Regions from separate parts of the Homo sapiens genome. Here all the other regions are linked to region 3. The links are contacts of gene promoters, found by promoter capture Hi-C in blood cells and fetal thymus (Javierre and others, 2016). All regions are on one chromosome and are shown on one strand. Each heading gives the region's core, a stretch centred on a gene start or on the middle of the fragment in contact. The rest is flanking DNA. Distances are from core to core; before and after follow the strand shown. Region 1 has its middle 2.4 kb from the start of LINC02728. Region 2 overlaps NARS2 (asparaginyl-tRNA synthetase 2, mitochondrial). Region 3 holds the start of ALG8 (ALG8 alpha-1,3-glucosyltransferase). Region 4 overlaps GAB2 (GRB2 associated binding protein 2).

Region 1 (3,037 bases), core at 293-2,792, 290 kb after region 3:
CACTCTAGCCTGAGTGAGAGAGTAAGACCCTGTCTCTAAATAAATAAATAAATAAATAAATAAATAAAAGATCTCTATTAAGATAGTGAGTTCCTATTCAGTGAAGCTACAATAGGTAAATTACTAGGAATCAGGAGAAATACAGAGGGGAGTAGTTCATATATCATAAACGGGAAGAATTATCTTCTTTCCAAGATTTTTCAAAACTAGGTTCCTAGGAAAATGGCAAACCAGCAATTCTTATTGAGCTAGTGTGTAGAGAAAGTTATGAATCAAAGAATCACAGTTGTAGATGGCTCAGGTTCGGCAAAATACAGTTCCAGCTGTGTACATGGGCACCTGTTGCAGAAAAAAAACCTTTGTTACACAGGCTCACCATGTATCTATTTTCAGATTATTACCTTGAAAAATCAAAGGTCTGTGACTTCGAGGAAGATATTAATAATTCCTATCAAAGTTTCTTTCATGTATCTTTCTATCCACAATTCAAAGATGATCCTAAAAGGAAGGTGGCAAATGTGAGTATAAACTGATAACAAATTGAGGCACAATGAGCTTAAGTACATTGCTGGGTCTAGGATCCTTTACCCCATTTTTAGTGTTTCTCTTTACTCCAATGTATTTGAGATCAAACATCATCTTCCTTCACATTCTCCTGTCCCTTCACCCTGGGTAGAACAAGGTCAAGGTGAGTATTTTGCGACACATTCAGTAAACTCTGGGGCTTAAGATGCAAGATTCTTTGGTTATTAGGTTTTATGTTTTTTGGTTTCTCTGGAAGCTGAGGGCAGTGAATTTTATTTGCAGTCTTTCTCTCAGTATTAGGAACTTTCGATTTTTTTTTTTTTTTTTTTTGAGACAGAGTCTCGCTCTTTTGCCTAGGCTGGAGTGCAGTGGTGTGATCTCGGCTGACTGCAAGTTCCGCCTCCCGGGTTCATGCCATTCTCCTGCCTCAGCCTCCTGAGTAAGCTGGGACTACAGGCGCCTGCCACCACACCCGGCTAATTTTTTTTTTTTTTTTTTTTTTTTTTTTTTTGTAGAGACAGGGTTTCACCGTGTTAGCCAGGATGGTCTCAATCTCCTGACCTTGTGATCTGCCGGCCTTGGCCTCCCAAAAGGAACTTTGAATTTTTATAACAAATAAACCAAATAAATTTCATGACCAGTAAGATACAAAGGAACAAAGTCCACAATGTATTGTCTTGATAACTAAGAAAATAAGATACATGAAACATGTTTGTGAACTGTAAAGCAATGCCTAAATAATAGTCATGTTATTAGTAACAATTATGAACAGTAAAGGTATAGCAGAAAATTTTTGAAAAGTCATGAGCTATGTTAATTCAATGACCAGCTGCCTGAATGACAGTTTAAAAACCACCTAAACTCCTGGTGTCTTCTTTATAAAGGTCCCCCAGAAACTATCCAGTGTGCTGATAATGGCTAGAAATTCGCTGGACTCCATTTATGGTAATGCTGGGTCCAAACTGCACAACAGCTAACTGGAGCCTTAGTTGATCACAGGCCAATCTAGGGCTCCTGGCAACAGTAGAATGTCCAAGTTCAGGGAGGGATGCTGACCATGACTTAAAATACTTTCTTACAAAAGCCATACTAAATCATTTCAATACAGTGATTAAGGTTGCTTTGGGCCCTTTTCTTTTTCTTTTTTTTTTTTTTTGAGATGGAGTCTTGCTCTGCTGCCCCCCGCTGGAGTGCAATGGCACCATCTCGGCTCACTGAAACCTCCGCCTCCCAAGTTCCAGCAATTCTCCTGCCTCAGCCTCCCAAGGAGCTGGGATTACAGGAGCCTACCACCACAGCTAGCTAATTTTTGTATTTTTAGTAGAGATGGGTTTCATCATGTTAGTCAGGCTGGTCTCGAACTCCTGACCTCAGGTGATCCGCCTGTCTTGGCCTCCCAAAGTGCTGGGGTTACAGGTATGAGCCACCGTGCCCGGCCCGCTTTCTGCCCTTTTCTTAACGCTTTTACTATCTTTTAATTCTGAAGATTAACTGGGGAGAAATTATAATCAGATGTTACTCTCACCTGTTTTTTTAATTATACATAGATTGCAGACTGAATACAAATATTGATCAGAAGCCAAAACACCCCACACATTACTTATCAATCAACCCAGGCCAATCTGTCTTTCAACTGTACATTTTTGTGTTCTTGCCTCACCACTTAGTAAAATAAACATAAGAATAAATAGCAATCCAATCCAAATAAGCATCTCTCATCTATAATTATCTGAAGCAACGGATTTAAAGATGGGTAGAGTTAATCCACCTCACCAAGTACATCTTCAATGCCTGTTCAGTCATGCTTCAATGTCTACATTCAATTTATAGAGAATATGAATATATAACATTGTAGAGGGAGGCTTCTGGCAGATCCAGTCTGACAAGAACAAAAGGTCAAATAGTTCTTTTGCTATTCTGTGACAGTTGAAGAGTCTCTGGGTTGGAGAGTTATGTCTAGATCTGGAATGGATCACTCACACAATTAAGTTCTTGTCAGACCTAAAAACATGACAGCACAACTTTCCCCAGGCAAAAGGACAGCCAGATGGAAAGCAACTATTTTTCTCAACCTATCTCAAAATTTGAAATAAGAATGAGAATAATGGAAAAAACCTTTCTAAGTTTTAGAATATACTTCTACTTTGGTTGCTGGGGTTCTTATTTTCAGGTGGCATTTGGAAATCTTAGGAAAACATAATCTGATTTCTTTCCTCATTGGAAATGGGTTGCTCAAGTGAAAAACTAACCCTCTTATCACCTTTTAACTCAGAAACTGAGCACTAAAAGCTATTATGGTGTAGACAGTACTCAACTATTGAATCCATACGTTTATTCATTATACACTGACTTATACAACACTGTTTGCAATGTAGAATTTAGATATTCATATCTCAGCTGATGAGTAAACATTTTGAGTTTTTTCCTGCTGATGCTGCCTGCAAGCAACAGTTCAGTTTTGGCATTTTCATCATCTTTGTCTGACTTGAATTTTTGTTTTTGTTCAATTATT
Region 2 (2,891 bases), core at 30-2,529, 310 kb after region 3:
ATACACAACTATTGCTGCACTTAGTATAAAATTAAGGTGAAAGTTGTTGTATTAGTCAGGATAGGCTAGGCTAAGCTATAGTCACAAACAACCCCAGAAGCTTACAACCAGGTTTCTCAATCTCAACATTAATAACATTTTTAACTAGATACTTCTTTGTTGTGGAGGCCTCAACTGTGCACTGTGGGATATTGAGAAGCATAACTAGCCTCTACCCACTATAGGCCAGTTATACTCCCCTTGTTGTAACAACCAAAAACATTTCCAGACATTACAAATGTTCCTTGGTGAAGAAAGAGGGGAACATAATAATCCCTGGTTGAGAACCACTAGTTTAAAACAATGAAAGGCCTTTTAAAAACACAGGCCACATGTCCACCCTGGTCTAAAACTGATAGAATAATCTCTTTCTAGGGTACTGTTGGTCTTGGGGCAGATGGGAAAAAGATCATGTATGACTATGTACTAAAAGCATTTGTACAGAAGCAACGTATGTATGTCACTTCTCACATTCCTCGACCAATGCAAGTCATATGACTCAGGTCACATTAATGGGACGGGGAAGCATAATTCCCACTGAGGGAGAAGCACAAACTATATGTGCACATAAAACAGTTTTCCATGTTGCTTTTTCCTCATCTACGTGGACTCTTAAACTTCCACCCTCCCAAACAATCCTTCAATGTTAATTAGAATTAAAGGAAGAACAGTAGTTCTCCTATTTTCTTCCTCTGTACTCTGGGAGATAAACGAATCAGTATGGAAGAACTTACCAAAATAGGCTATTTTCACGGGATAAAAATTTTAGAAGACATCTGGATACAGTCCCACACCACTACTATATCTTTACTTGGTACTAATTTAATGGTATGCAGGAGGAACACATATCATCTTTGTTCTTTCTTTGCCTACATGGTCTGAAAATTCACATTCTCTCCAGTGGTCAGTCTCCTACATGTTTCCTTGACAAGAGTGCAAAGTTGCTTCCCCTCTTAAGATACCTGTATCTTTTGAGCAAAGCATTCCTTTACAATGTCTCATAATTATTTCAGGACCAAATGGTACTATTTCTTTTTCAACAAGGTCAGGTGAACCTCTGAAGAAAAGCCCACAAAAGCCTTGTCTTTTTTTTTTTTTTTTTTTTTTTCCTGAGACTGAGTCTCACTGTGTCGCCCAGGCTGGAATGCAGTGGTGTGATCTCAGCTCACTGCAACCTCCGCTTCTCAGGTTCAAGTGATTCTCCTGCCTCAGCCTCCCGAGTAGCTGGTATTACAGATGCATGCCACCACGCCTGGCTAATTTTTATACCTAATTTTTGTAGTAGAGATGGGGTTTCACCATGTTGGGCAGGCAGGCCTCTAACTCCTGACCTCAAGTGATCTGCCCACCTGGGCCTCCAAAGTGCTGGGATTACAGGCGTGAGCCACTGTGCCCAGCCCTTGTTGTCTTTTCTTCCTCCATGTAACATTCTTCTTTTCTCTTTTACTTCAGGTTTAGGTTCCCTTCCACCGTATCAGATTCTAATACTTCCTGTTTTTCTTTTATAACTATATCCTCCTACCTAGCTAAAGATTCTGCACACTCTCTGAGAAGTTATAATACAGCAGAGTATTCTTCAATTACAAATAAAGACACATTTTGAATACACAGAGTGTACTTTCTTCTGGTATATCAAAAATACTGCATTCTCTAAAGATCACTAGAACAATTCCCTCAAATTTTCACACTCTTTAGTTAGGATTGAAATTCCAGGTAGAATTCTTCTACCTTGTATCTCCCCCTGATAACAACTGGGCTAGTTACTAGAAAAACTACCTCTTTCTCCTGGGTTCTCCTAGAGATAAAAGGTACATAAAGATATAATACAAACACACAGGCAATTACACAAATTTCTTGGAGAAGTAATGACAAAAACTTGATTGTGTGTTTCACAAGTTATTGGGAGCCGGTTAAGAGTGCAGGCAGGTTGGAAACAAGAAAGTTGGCATTTGCGGGTGATGACAACTTGCCTTTATGGGCAGGCAGGTCTGTGGTTTATGGGAGGCTGAGACTGGCTTATAGAGCCAAGGACAATAAAGACAGGAGGAATTAACTTTGATTAGGGAAAGTGGGGAAGGTTCATGAATAAATAAAAAGTGCTACAGCAGAGATTAGATTTTATCATAGCTAACCATAAAGCATTAGGTGCTACAAGAAAAATACAGATAAAGTACCACAAATAATCATATAGACCATGGTCACTATCAAAAGCTCAGATATTGATTGTCTACTAATGGCTCTTCCAGCCAATTCCAGTGTGCTTTTAGAGTACTGCAAAGGTGACTCTGAAATTGAGCAACCGTCAATACCCATTTTCTGCCCATTTGGCTGTTGCATGCCAGGCTCTCCAAATAGCCGGACTCTAGAGCACATCTTAAGCAAGCTGGAGCACATCACCTTTGCCCTGGGAAATGAGCTGCAAGCTTTTGAACTTCCTGTTACGAAGTATCCATATCTTTTAGTTAGATGACCAAACACATACTTATTTATGAGTTTCAACTATGATTCTTTTTTTAAATTTTTCAATTTTTTTTTTAAATTTTTTTGAGATGGAGTCTCACTCTGTTGCCAGGCTGGAGTGTAGTGGTGCGATCTCACTCACTGCAACCTCTGCCTCCCAGGTTCAAGAGATTTTCCTGCCTCAGCCTCCCGAGTAGCTGGGACTACAGGAGCTCGCCACCATGCTCAGCTAATTTTTTATATTTTTAGTAGAGAAGGGATTTCACCATGTTGGCCAGGCTGGTCTCGATCTCTTGACCTTGTGATCCACCTGCCTCGGCTTCCTAAAGTTCTGGGATTACAGGCGTCAGCCACCGTGTCTGGCCGATTTTTTTTTTTATTTTTGAGACAGG
Region 3 (3,156 bases), core at 388-2,887:
GTACATGTGCTGCCAAAGTGAGCGCTATATACATTCTTAACCTGGACCAAGAGCAGTATTCAAAATAACAACTCTGGCCAGGCACGGTGGCTCATGCCTGTAATCCCAACATTATGGGAGGCCGAGGCAGGTGGATCACTTGAGGTCAGGAGATTTGAGATCAGCCCTCCGCCATCATGGTGAAACCCCATCTCTACTAAAAATACAAAAATTAGCCTGGCGCGGTGGTGCAAGCCTGTAATCCCAGCTACTCCGGAGGCTGAGGCAGGAGAATCGTTTGAACCCGGGAGGCAGAGGTTGCAGTAAGCTGAGATCGTGCCACTGTACTCCAGCCTGGGTGACAGAGTGGGACGAGACTGTCTCAAAAAAAAAAAAAATAACAAACAAAAAAAACAACTCTGAGGATACATTTCTAGCCTGAGGCAACTAAAGCAAGAAATAATCTTATGCACAGACCTACAGTTAATCATTTTACTGAATCTACATATACATTCCACTTACATGATTACATATACGCATCAGTATGGACTTACATTCTATACATATGACTCTCCCATATTCAACAAGAGATCACCAAGAGCCTGAATCAAAGGATACCAATAAAACAAACCCTAAACTAGGAAGTGGGAGGGAAAGGAGAAAAGGGATGAGGGAGAAAAAGAAAAAAGAGGAAGGATGAAGGGAAGGCGGAAGCCAATATTAATAAATACTGAGTACCTACTGTATACACACCACCATTTCATGGTTGCTTCTTGGTTTCCACGCTTTCAGTCTTGGCCCTACATCCATTTTTTACACAGCAGTCTAACTGTGGTCTTCGAAACCCTGTGTTATCTGTCCCCAGTGCACCCCATGCTGTGCCACTCCTCTCCCTCAATGCTCTGCAGCCACAAGGGGCACTTTCTGTTCCTAGAATGCTCTGACTTCTTTCCTGCCACAGGGCCTTTGAACTTACTCTTTCCTATGCCTGAACTGCTTTCCACATCACTTATTCTTTTTCATTTTTTGAATTTCAACTCAAACATCACCTTCTAAAGGAATAGCGCACAGCCACTTAGTAACCCTCTATTTCCTTTATCACAATCTGAAAAGTTCCTGTTTGTCTAGCTCCACCCACCAACTTCGAGGGCAAGGACCAGCAATGTCTTGCTCACCACCGCATCTCCCGGGAGTTAGAACGGTACCTGGCACCTCAGGCATCTGATAATACTGGCTGAATGGCTGTTGGAGGCAGAGGTTCTTAACTGCCTATTAAGGATGAGGACCCTGAGGTTCAGAAACGTTAAAGTGATTTGTTCCAAATCAGACAGCGCCAGGTCTGAACCTAGCCAGCTGGGGCTAAGTCAAGTAACAACTGGCGAAACAGAAAGCTTAGCAAAGGCAGGATAGCGACAAACACGACCTAAAGTTTTCTCTTCATACCCAGGGATATCCACACCTTTCTCTCCCGCCCTGACCGACCGCGGGGCCTCCCCGCCCAGCCCCTGGCCGTGCGAGTCCCTTACTATGTGGGGATGAGAAGGCATTTGAGAAGAGTCACCCCGAGCGCCAAAGCCGAAAACCAATTGCCAGTACCCGTGGCAATTGTGAGCGCCGCCATTGCTGCGGCACCGCACGCTTCCCACCAACTTGATCCACATCCGGGATCCCGCGCATGCGGAGAAAGCCCTCTGAAGCCGTGCCCGCTAGCTGCGCGCATGCGGCGAGCGGCGCAGCCAGTCCGGGGACTGCAGTCAGCTATTTAAACCTCCCGCCCACCTTTTCTTTAGACCCGCGTCTCACCCCGGGCCGGAAGGGCTCCTGCGCAGGCGTTTGTAGCCACTTTTAAGTTTTATCAGCTAGTTCATGCTTGCGTTGAAAGAGTGGTCGTTTGCGCTGGGTCATCACTGTGTAGTATTGGGGATACTTAGGTGAGAAAAAAACTTAACGCTAGAGACGTTCACGCACTAGTGGAGAAGCCAGGATTGTTGCCCTAGAGTTACAGTAGATAAAAGTACCTCAGAGAACTGCGGGGGCTCCCAACCTGGACGCTTGCACCGGAGTATTAAATCCAGCTAGAGAATGGCATGTGCAAAGATACAGAGGTGAGAAACATTGTGTTTTTAGAACTCTGAGCGAGGCTCTTGGCTCACCTCCTGCTTGAGCGGAACCCATTCTGGAAGCAGGGTAGAGGCTAGTCCTAACGCTTAGTGTACAAATAGCCTACGGTTCATGTTAAAATAATTCGGATTCTGATTCAGTAGGCCCAACAAACTCGCAGATTGCGTAATGACTGAGGCACATGCAATTTAATTAGGCTTGTCTCATTATTTTACTGTATGATCTTGGACAAACTAAACTCTAAACCTCAGTTTCTTTTTTTAAAATTTTTATTTATTTATTTATTTTTGAAAATAGGAGATAAAAATGGTTTCTGGCCGGACGCGGTGGCTCACGCCTGTAATCCCAACACTGGGAGGCCGAGGTGGGCGAATCACCTGAGTTCAGGAGTTTGAGATCAGCCTGGCCAATATGGTGAAACCCTGTCTCTACTAAAAATTAAAAAAAAATTAGCCGTGCATGGTGGCGGGCGCTTGTAATTCCACCTACTCGGGAGGCTGAAGCTAGAGAATCGCGTGAACGTGGGAGGCGGAGGTTGCAGTGAGCTGAGATCGCGCCATTGCACTTCAGCCTGGGCAAGCCTCAGGCCTGTTTATCCAAGATGCTTTTGGTCTAAAAAAAAAAAAGTTTCAGCCTCATAAACTGGTTGTGAGGATTAAATGAGAATGCATGTAAATTGCTTGATATGATTCCAGGACAGAATAAATGCTCAATAATGTGTCAGATCAGTTAATTATCTTGCTGAAAGATGCACAGCAAGTAGGTGACAGTGTCACCTCCCTAATATGAGTTTATGCCCTCCCACAGCTTCAGCTGCCACCCATGTGAATATGATTCACAGATTTCTAGCTCAGCACTCTTCTCTCACTTTCAGACCCTGGTCTCCAGTTGGCTACCTGACCTCACGTAGATGTTTTTGTTTTGTTTTTGAGAGACAGGGTCTCATTCTGTGGCCCAGGCTGGAGGGCAATAGTGCAAACACAGCTCACTGCAGCCTCGATCTCCTGGGCTCAAGCAGTCCTCCCCACCTCAGCCTCCTGAGTAACTGGGACCACA
Region 4 (3,292 bases), core at 514-3,013, 270 kb after region 3:
GATCTGGTTATTTAGAAGTGTGTAGTACCTCTCCCCTCACTCTCTTCCTCCTGCTCCAGCCATGTAAGATGTGCCTGCTTCTCCCTCACCTTCCGCCATGACTGTAAGTTTCCTGAGGCCTCCCCAGCCATGCTTCCTGTACAGCTTGTGGAACTGTGGGCCAATTAAACCTCTTTTCTTGATAAATTACCCAGTCTCAGGTAGTTCTTTACAGCAGTGCGAGAACGGATTAATACACCCCAACAATATGCCACCTATAAGATATCACTTCAAATACAATGATATGGGTAGGTTGAAAGTAAATTGATGGAAAAGATGTATCATGTGAATATCAATAAAAGGAAAGCAAGAATAACTATATCATCAGATATAGGCTATAATATATCAAGTAGCCCTCAGATACTTGTATAATATATCAGATAACAAGTAGACCTCAGAGCAAAAGAAATTACCAGAGACTCAGCAGGTATTATATAAAGATAAAAGGGTCATGCCACCAAGAAGATGTTGCAATTCTAAATGTGTATATATTGAACAACAGGGCTGGGTGCGGTGGCTCATGTCTGTAATCCCAGCACTTTGGGAGGCCGAGGCAGGCGGATGACCTGAGGTCAGGAGTTCGAGACCAGTCTGGCCAACATGGAGAAACCCTGTCTCTATTAAAAATACAAAATTAGCCGGGTGTGGTGGCGCATGCCTGTAATCCCAACTACTTGGGAGGCTGAGGCAGGAGAATTGCTTGCACCCAGGAGGTGGAGGTTGCGGAGAGCTGAGATCATGCTATTGCACCTCCAGCCTGGGCAACAACAGCGGAACTCCATCTCCAAAAAAATAATAAAAAAAATAAAATATGTGAAACAAAAACAGATATAAGTGAAATGAGAAACAGAAATATTCACAATTATAGTTGGAAACTTCAACCCCTGTCTCTCAACAATCGACAGAAGAACTAGATAGAAAAATCAGCAAGGATATAAAAGAATTATATATATCACTATCAATCAAAAAGATATAATTGACATTTATGGAATACTTTACCCAATAATAGCAGAATAAACATTCTTTTCAAAGTACCCATGGAACCTAAAGCAAGATAGACCACATTTTCAGCAATAAAATAAACCTTGACAAGTTAAAAATAATTGAAATCAAATAGAACTTACTCTACTCCCACAATGAATTCCAACTAAAAGACAGAAACAGAAAAATAATGGGAAAATCTCCAAACATTTGGAAACTAAACAATGTACTTGTAAATAATCCATGGTCAAAGAGGAAAGTCTCAAGGAAAGTAAAAAAAATATATATATACTGAGCAAATAAAAATTGAAAATGCAATTTATCAAAATTAGTGGGACACAGCTAAAGCAGTGCTGAGAGGGAAATTCATAGCAGTAAATGAATACATTAAATAAGAGGAAAAGTCTCAAATGAATAAACTACTATATAAAAAAATCAGAGGCCAGGTGCAGCGGCTCATGCCTGTAATTGCAGCACTTTGGGAGGCCAAAGCAGGCAGATCACTTAAGGTCAGGAGTTTGAGACCAGCCTGGCCAATATGGTGAAACCCTGTCTCTACTAAAAATACAAAAATCAGCTGGGCATTGTGGCACATGCCTGCAATCCCAGCTGCTCGGGAGGCTGAGGCAGGAGAACTGCTGGAACCTGGGAGGTGGAGGTTGTAGTGAGCTGAGATCGTGCCATTGCACTCCACCCCAGGTGACAGAGTGACATGCTGTCTCAAAAAACAAACAAAAAATAATAATGAAGCAATGTCAGTATGCAAGAATAAGGGTTAAAAAAATAAAGCAGTGGACCCACTACAGACCCTGCAGACACTGAAAGCATAATACAGGATACTGTAACTCCACTCACATGTATGTAACAACTTAGACAAAATGGACCAATTTGTTGAAAAATGTAAACTTCTATAATTCAGCCAATATGAAGTAGATAATTTGAAGAACCCCGTATCTATTAAAGAAATTGGATTAAAAATGTAAAAAATTCCTAACAAAGACATTTCCAGATCCAGATGGTTTAATCTGGAGAATTCTACCAAAGGTTTAAAGAATTATACCAGTTCTACACCATCTCTTCCAGAAGGCTAGACATGGTGGTTCACACCTATAATCGCAGCACTCTGGGAAGCCAAGGTGGGAGGACTGCTTAAGCTCCGGAGTGTGAGACCAGCCTGGGCAACGCAGGGAGACCCTGTCTCTACAAATAATAAAAAAAAAAATTAGCCAGGCACAGCAGTACGCAGCTGTCGTCCCAATTACTTGGGAGGCTGAGACAGTAGGATCACCTGAGCCCAGGAATTTGAGGCTGCAGTGAGCCATGATTGTGCCACTGTCGCCAGCCTGTGTGACACAGCAAGATTCTGGTGGGGGTGGTTGGGGGGGGGGATGGTGGAAGGAGAAGAAAATAAACGAAGGAAGAAAGACATATATAAATAAATGTAAAATAAATTCATGGACTGGAAGATTTAATATAGTAAAGCTGTAATTTCTTCCCAAATTGGTACACAGGATTAATGCACTTCCTATTAAAATCTCAGCAAGACTTTCTTTTTTTTGCATAAACAAGATTATTCTAAAATTTGTATTGAAAGGTAAAGATAATAGAATAGCTAAAACACTTTGAAAAATAAGAATAAAGTAGAGGAATCAGGCTACCAGATTTCAAGACTTACAATATAGCTAGAGTTGGCAAGATTCTATGGTATTTGCAGAGGGACAGACACATGGAAAAATGGACCAAAACAGAGACAACAGAAACAGACCCACACAAATACGTCCAACTGATTTTTGACAAAGACGGAAAAGCAATTCAATGGAAGTAGGATGGCTTTGTCAACAACAATGACAACAACAAAAGAACCTCAATCTAAGTCTCACATCTTACATGAAAATTAACTCACAGTGGATCACGGACTTAAAGGAAAAACATAAACCTGTAAAATGTGTAGAAAAAAAAAAACCAGGAAAGCCGGCGCAGTGGCTCACGCCTGTAATCCCAGCACTTTGGGAGGCCAAGGTGGGCGGATCACGAGGTCAAGAGATTGAGACCATCCTGGCCAACATGGTGAAACCCTGTCTCTACTAAAAATACAAAAATGAGCTGGGCATGGTGGCGCACACCTGTAGTCCCAGCTACTCAGGAGGCTGAGGCAGGAGAATCGCTTGAACCTGGGAGGCAGAGGTTGCAGTGAGCCAAGACTGTGCCACCGCACTCCAGCCTGGGTGACAGAGTGAGAATCTGTCTAAAAACAACAACAACAACAACAACA

What was found. Contacts are between HindIII fragments. The CHiCAGO score rates a contact against its expected background, and 5 or more counts as called.
Region 1: a contact is called between a fragment that was not itself captured here and the fragment with the promoter of ALG8 in region 3, in 6 of 17 cell types (activated CD4 T cells, megakaryocytes, fetal thymus and 3 more). The highest score is 8.7, in activated CD4 T cells.
Region 2: a fragment that was not itself captured here is called in contact with the fragment with the promoter of ALG8 in region 3 in 1 of 17 cell types (naive CD4 T cells); the score reaches 5.6 in naive CD4 T cells.
Region 4: a contact is called between a fragment that was not itself captured here and the fragment with the promoter of ALG8 in region 3, in 5 of 17 cell types (non-activated CD4 T cells, activated CD4 T cells, fetal thymus and 2 more). The highest score is 10.6, in non-activated CD4 T cells.

Annotation. Positions count from the first base shown.
Region 1 is chr11:78,430,697-78,433,733 of GRCh38, forward strand. No RefSeq gene overlaps it. Among named protein-coding and RNA genes, the nearest start is that of LINC02728, 2.4 kb to the left of the region's middle. The HindIII fragment of the contact is 4,611 bases long and covers 1-3,037 here.
Region 2 is chr11:78,449,543-78,452,433 of GRCh38, forward strand. All of the region lies in intron 11 of NARS2 (asparaginyl-tRNA synthetase 2, mitochondrial), which reads right to left. Among named protein-coding and RNA genes, the nearest start is that of LINC02728, 21 kb to the left of the region's middle. The HindIII fragment of the contact is 2,362 bases long and covers 99-2,460 here.
Region 3 is chr11:78,137,989-78,141,144 of GRCh38, forward strand. It overlaps ALG8 (ALG8 alpha-1,3-glucosyltransferase), which reads right to left and starts at 1,638. Exons shown (of 13, transcript NM_024079.5): 1 at 1,506-1,638. The coding sequence starts at 1,600. KCTD21-AS1 (KCTD21 antisense RNA 1) reads left to right here and starts at 1,805. Exons shown (of 3, transcript NR_102281.1): 1 at 1,805-2,084. RefSeq lists enhancers at 1,221-1,330, 1,411-1,490, 2,101-2,210, 2,371-3,081. The HindIII fragment of the contact is 5,506 bases long and covers 1,369-3,156 here.
Region 4 is chr11:78,408,762-78,412,053 of GRCh38, forward strand. All of the region lies in intron 1 of GAB2 (GRB2 associated binding protein 2), which reads right to left. Among named protein-coding and RNA genes, the nearest start is that of GAB2, 7.4 kb to the right of the region's middle. The HindIII fragment of the contact is 9,698 bases long and covers 1-3,292 here.